Regions from separate parts of the Homo sapiens genome. Here region 2 is linked to region 1. The links are contacts of gene promoters, found by promoter capture Hi-C in human tissues and cell types (Jung and others, 2019). All regions are on one chromosome and are shown on one strand. The core of a region is centred on a gene start or on the middle of the fragment in contact, and the rest is flanking DNA. Distances in the headings are between cores, read along the strand shown. Region 1 holds the start of CACNG3 (calcium voltage-gated channel auxiliary subunit gamma 3). Region 2 has its middle 24 kb from the start of RBBP6.

Region 1 (3,332 bases), core at 345-2,844:
AGTGATATCCAAGCATTGCCTACTGGTGCTGAGAGTGACTTCTGGTGTGGTGAAAGCAAGTTTAATAGTGTGATAGGCTACAAAAGGGCTTTATATTTTTAAATTGCTCTTTCTTCTTCATTATAAGTTATAACTACTCCCTAATTTTTAGAACTAGAAATGACGAACTGCAATTCTTGGAGAATCAGTCTTTTGTAAATGTCATGGAAATACCTTTTTAGGGGTTTGGGAATGATTTAGGAATGAAGACAGGTGGATACAAAATACCAAGACTTCAGTTTTGTTGTGATCCAAACTAATAAAACATGTATCAATAAGGATTTTTTCTTAAAATGTGTGCATAGGGTGTGGGTGGGAGTAGGGGTTTACATATGTTACCCTGTTACTGATTGGCAGTGGAAGTTCATGACAATATCTAGTTAGAGCAAACTCAGGAGAAACTGATAAGTCTATGTTGAGAAATAATGAAATAGCTCAGAATGTGCCAGACCGGGTCAGGATCTCTCTCTCTCTCTCTCTCTCTCTCTCTCTCTCTCTCTCTCTCTCTCTCTCTCTCTCTCCCCCCTCACTTCTTTCCTCTTGTCCCTTCTCCTCCCTTCCCTCCCCCTCCCTTCGAAATCCAATTTAAGCAGGGTTAAAGACCCCATCTCAAGCCAGAGATCCAAGCAGTTGACAATATGCCTAGGGATTTTGGATTTGAAGACTTTTCTAAACTGCAGAAGCTGCCTAGAGTGTGACAAAAATCTCATCTCATGAAGCTTATACTAAAAACAATCAACAAGACCCAACCCCTTTAACCCACATGGCGTCAGTCTTGCTGTTAACAGAGTCTGGGCACCTGCACATTCTCAGCAATAATTTGAACTTCTCTTCTTTCCTTATCACCATTTCCATCTCCTCCAAACACCCACCAGAATATCAGAACTGGATTATTCAGAGCTATTGAGAGGAAATTGTAAATACCTTCTAGGCAGCAGGTCCTCCACAGCCCCGAATGGGTCATTACTTCTTCATTCTTCCTGCTGGTTTCATTATCACTTGTAGATTTAGTCCTGCACACACCTCTGGAATATAACCAGTAGTCCGTGCCCACTGCAATGGTCATTAAACTAAAAGCGGCAAAGGCTCCTACAGTGGTGATCAACATCTGGATACCTCTGTCACACATCCTCATAATTCTTCATGGTACTCTGGACGGCTGGGGGTTGGAGGGGGAGAGTCAGTGCCGGAGGGGAAAATCACTCTGCAGCCGGGTAACCTAGTACAGGCTCTTCCAAAAATTCAGGTCTCCTTTTGTCAGCATCCACAGGGACTTTGGGAAAGCTGGGATTTCCTTTCTGGAGCTCTCTCCAGTTCCCTGGGTCGCCTATGGCCCTCGGAAGGGTGCAGGCTCCGGGGGGTTGGTCCGCATCACTGCTGCCTTCTGAGGGTCCCTGGGTTCCTTTCATTCCTCAGGAGCGTGGTAAAGACGAGGGTCCGTGCAGGGCATGGCTCCGGAGCCTGGAGCTGCCAGCTCGGTTTGAGATGCGCCTGGCTTCTCACAGCCCCGGGAGACTCAAGGCAAAGAAACCCAGAGAGGTCTCTGTGTGAGTGTGTGTGTGTGTGTGTGTGCGTGCGTGCGTGTGTGTGCGAGCGCGTGTGCTGGGGGTGAGGGCGGATGGCAAAAAATAGCACTGCTGGGAGGCGAGCCGCTGAGAAGAGTGTTCACTGCTTCCACAGCCTCGCAGGAAAGCTCTCCGCCTGCTCCCGACACCCCCGCTCAAACTGGAGAAAAGACAGAGTCCTGGGGCGGGGGCCGGCTGGTTTCCCTGGGGGCGCCAAGGTCCGTGGTGCTGAAGGGACAGCTCCCCGCCTGTTGCCCCGCCTCCGTCGTCTTAACGCCTAGGCTTTAAGGTCCGTGGTGCCGAAGGGACAGCTCCCTCATGCAGCTGCACACCGCCGCCCGGGCTAGAAACCCGGGGTGCTAAAGGGTCTTTCTTCCCTCACCCCGCCCTTCCCCCGTTCCTTCCCGGGTCAGCCAGCCGGCTCGGCTCTGCCCAGTCAAGCCCACTCTCCGCGCAAAGTTTCTGGAGCCGAGGACAGTCAGCGCCCTGGCTCCTGGGCGCTGCAGCACGACCCGGTTCCTCCGCTCTAGGAAGGGTTAAGGAAAGGGGAAGGGGAGCGAAGCCCGTAGCGCACTCTGGCGCTCCCTCAGCACCCACCCAACGCGGCATTCTTCAATCCTCCCTTTCACCCCATGAGCCAGGCAAGTTTGCCTTTTGCTGCGGGCACCACTGGAGCCCATTGGGGAAAAAGAAGACCCGAAAGACCGAGTCTTCTTAAAGGCACCGGCAGCTCTGGAGACGGCTCTATGGCTCGCTTAGGCGGGCAAAAAGTGTTGTCACAATCACATCTGTGTAGAGTCTGTCTCAATTTGGTTCCCCAGCAAACAAACCAATATGTCTACCCTCCTTTCTCTGGAGCTCTGGTTTACACCGAAGACAACCCGCTCAGATCAGACCCGGAACTGTTCATATATACATGATCATGTATTCCTAAAAGATGGAAGAAGCTAAATATACATAGACTCTGTCATACACATATTAGGGACCTTGGGCAAAAGACTATAAGATTTTGGCCTTTGAATATGCCTTTTATACATTTTAACATATCTACATCGAAGGGGGTGATGGATTCATGGTGGGAGAGTCACTGAAAATGTCAGATTTTGTTCAAAGGTCTCTGAGATATCATTTGTTAACATTGTTATCTAAGTGAGACCATGAAGCAGGTGAAGTTAGGTCTGCTTTGCTTGTTAGTCCAAAGGGCAAATGGCATTGCACACCTGAAAGCTCTCTTCCTTGGAAATAGCCAGTATTGCAAAGGACCAGCATTTAACCAGCTTTTTATTACTATGTATTCCGGCATATGCATGGGCACACACCGAGTTGACTAGAAACAGCCCACAGAAATGCCCTTATTATTTTTTTTCTTATGGCATCCTGGGACTGATATCCAGAGGTCAGATAGTTGGAAATGAGGTTGCTTGGGTTGTTTCCACAGTTCCTGAGATGTGTCCGCAACCAACTGTCATGTTTGAATGTTATTTAGCTGGACAGAAATATAACGGGAGGTAATCGCAGACAAACATACTCCCCTGGTGCCATCTCTGGCTGCCTGGGAACTTCTATTCAGGTGACTGGGTAGCAGGAATATATTGAAGGGTTCGCAAATGCAGCTCACAACTTCTTGGTGACTTTGCTACTTTCATTTTGGTGTTAAGACTGAAGACTTTATTCTTGGTGTTAGATAAATACTCATGTGCAGGAGGAAGTTTGAATATATAGCTGTGG
Region 2 (3,332 bases), core at 494-2,993, 260 kb before region 1:
CAGGCTGGCCTCGAACTGCCGACCTTAAGTGATCCGCCCTCCTCGGCCTCCCAAAGTGCTGGGATTACAGCACCGGGCCTATTTGGTTCCTTTCGATCCCTTATATTTTCTTATAGTGGTTTTGCAGTTTCAGATCTTATGTTTAAATATTTAATCCAGTTTGAGTTCATTCTTGCATAAGGGGTGAGATAACGGTCTGTTTTCCCTGTGCCCGTGGATTTCCAGCTTTAGTTTCATTTGATTTGAAGCGACTTTAGCAAGTGAATGCTGTTGATGGCTGCCCCCTAGTGGACTCCCATGAGATTGTGTTTTCGTGGTCTGCTCTTTTCCGCGGGAGGACCTCTACTGGATACCAGCACCTGGCCTCCAGCAGAGGGTAAACAAATTAATACTCCCTAGTGTGGCAAGAGTTTAGATAAATCACATTCTTATCCCCGCAGCATGGACACACGCTCGGGGAACAAGATGAAGATCTGCCTTCAATATCACCGTTATGATTACAAGGCTGGACTGGCCGTCAGAGAAGCACAACAGGACCAGGTGGGGTGGCTTACGCCTGAAATCCCAGCACATTGGGAGGCTGAAGCAGGAGGATCACTTGTGCCTAGGAGTTCAAGACTATCCTGAGCAACATAGCGAGACTCATCTCTACAAAAATTAAAAAATTAGCCAGGGATGGTGGCGTGTGCCTGTAGTCCCAGCTACTCAGGAGGCTGAGGTGGGAAGATTGCTTGAGTCCAGGAGGTCAAGGCTGCAGTGAGCTATGATCACACCACTGCACTTCAGCCTGGGTGACAGAGCAAGTCCCTGTCTTAAAAAAAAAGAAAAGAAAAGAAAAGAAAAAAGCCGGGACTGGTAGCTCACACCTGTAATCCCAGCACTTTGGGAGACTGAGGCTGGTGGATCACCTGAGGTCAGGAGTTCAAGATCAGCCTGACCAACATGGTGAAACCCTGTCTCTAGTAAAAATACAAAAAAATTAGCTGGGTGTGGTGGTGGGCGCCTGTAATCCCAGCTATTCAGGAGGCTGAGGCAGGAGAATCGCTTGAACCCAGGAGGCAGAAGTTGCAGTAGCTGAGATCGCACCATTGCATTCCAGCCTGGGTGACAAGAGCAAAACTCCATCAAAAAAAAAAAAAAAGAAAGAAAAAAGAGAAAAGGCACAACAGGCTTTAGTCTAATAGTTCTTCAACCTTGAGGCTGGACAATCTTTTGTTGTGGGAGACTGTCCTTTGCGTTGTAAGATGTTTAATTACATGCTTGGGTCTTTATATGCTAGATGCTAGTAGCATCCCTTCCTCCATTATGACAACCAAAAATATCTCCACACATTGCCTATGGTCCCTTGGGGGGCCAAGTTGCCCCCATTTTTTTTTTTAGATGGAGTCTTGCTTTGTCTTCCAGGCTGAAGTGCTGTGGTGTGATCTCGGCTCACTGCAACCTCCACCTCCCGGGTTCAACTGATTCTCCTGCCTCAGCCTCCTGAGTAGCTGGGATTACAGGTGTGCGCCACCATACCCAGCTAATTTTTGTATTTTTAGTAGAGACTGGGTTTCACCATGTTGGCCAGGCTGGTCTCGAATTCCTGACCTCAGGTGATATGCCTGCCTCAGCCTCCTAAAGTGCTGGGATTACAGGCATGAGCCACCACATATGGCCTTTTTTTTTTTTTTTGGAAACAGGGTCTCATTCTGTCATCCAGGCTGTAGTGCAGTGGTGCAATCACAGCTTACAACAGCCTCGATTTCCTGGGTTCAAGCGATCCTCCCACTTCAGCCTCCTGAGTAGCTGGGACTACAGGCGTGTGTCACCATGCCCAGCTGATTTTTTAATTTTTATTTTTACTAGAGACGGGATCTTGCTGTGTTACCTGGGCTGGTCTTGAGCTCCTGAGCTCAAGCAATCTGCCCTCCTCAGCCTCCCAAAGGGCTGGGATTACAGGCATGAGCCACTGCGCCCAGCCAGCAGATTAGTCTTGGTGAAAGGGAGCCCATGTTATTGAGCTCTTAGCAAGCCTCCGTCTGTGCCACCATGGTTAGTCTATTCAAGGACCCACTGTGCCAACACAGTTACGGCTGGGTACACAATCTGGCGGGCCTCCACTGGACCAGTCAGCCTGTCCGCCCAGTTGTTTAATGCTGTCTTTTGGAAGATACCCTCTGGTGGGCATTGACATGAGACTTGAAGATCCACACAGTTGGCACCTCTCCCACAAATCCATCTACATACTTCTGCTTCAGGTTCTCCTGTCTTCCAATCTCACTCCTTCAAGGCTCCCTGCCAACCATTTAAGCTATTCACCACTGCCAAGATGTCTGCATATATGCTCATGTCAGGCAACTTCTCTCTTCTCACAAAGTCGATGGCCGGGTATACCATCCAAAGCTTGTCCAGCCTTCCTAAGCTGCCCCTGCCTGGGAGTCTAGTGTAGCAGCAGGACATCTTCAGCTCTCACCAACAGAGGAGACATCCCGTGCATAAACTTGGCTTGGGGTCTCTCCTTCTCCATCAACTGTACATAAGAAACCCTTGGCCGGGCGCGGTGGCCCACACCTGTAATCCCAACACTTTGAGAGGCCAAGGTGGGTGGATCACGAGGTCAGGAGATCGAGACCATCCTGGCTAACATGGTGAAACCCCGTCTCTACTAAAAATAAAAAAAAAAAATTAGCCAGGAGTAGTGGTGGGTGCCTGTAGTCCCAGCTACTCGGGAGGCTGAGGCAGGAGAATGGCATGAACCCGGGAGGCGGAGCTTGCAGTGAGCCGAGATCGCGCTACTGCACTCCAGCCTGGGCGATAGAGCGAGACTCTGTCTCAGAAAAAAAAAAGAAACCCTTCATGAAGATGTAAGCATGAGCTGAGGAAGGCATCAGAGCAATGAGGCAGGGAACATGTAGGTCTGGGTCACATCTTTCTGTAACTTAATTGAACTTTGGACCTGCCCAGGACTGACCCTGAAGGTGCTGTTTCCACTGTACTACGGATTTCTGCTGTACTTTTCAAGCTAAAGACTTGGTGGGTCTGACAATTACTGGCTCACGATAGGCATCCCATGGTTAAGTACTCCATCTCTACTAGGGCCCAGTAGCATGCCAGGAGCTGCTTTTTCCAATGTTGAAGAGTTCTCTGTTGCAGATGGCATGGCCTTGCTCCAGAACCCTATGGGTATTTGTTGTAACTCTCTAGTGGGGCTTGCCAGAGATTCCACATGGTGTCATTTTCCACCCCAGATAGCTCTATGCCATGGGACCTGCCATGCTGCATGGCCCAAGTTGCAGAACCATTTGTATTGCAGCTGAAACCTACTACAAAGCTCTATTTCACTCTACGTC

What was found. Contacts are between HindIII fragments. The study calls those that stand out against the background at their distance.
Region 2: a contact is called between a fragment that was not itself captured here and the fragment with the promoter of CACNG3 in region 1, in 1 of the 25 tissues and cell types used here (dorsolateral prefrontal cortex).

Annotation. Positions count from the first base shown.
Region 1 is chr16:24,254,597-24,257,928 of GRCh38, reverse strand. It overlaps CACNG3 (calcium voltage-gated channel auxiliary subunit gamma 3), which reads right to left and starts at 1,594. Exons shown (of 4, transcript NM_006539.4): 1 at 964-1,594. The coding sequence starts at 1,174. RefSeq lists an enhancer at 1,119-1,846. The HindIII fragment of the contact is 9,462 bases long and covers 320-3,332 here.
Region 2 is chr16:24,514,147-24,517,478 of GRCh38, reverse strand. No RefSeq gene overlaps it. Among named protein-coding and RNA genes, the nearest start is that of RBBP6, 24 kb to the left of the region's middle. RefSeq lists an enhancer at 177-471. The HindIII fragment of the contact is 7,482 bases long and covers 1-3,332 here.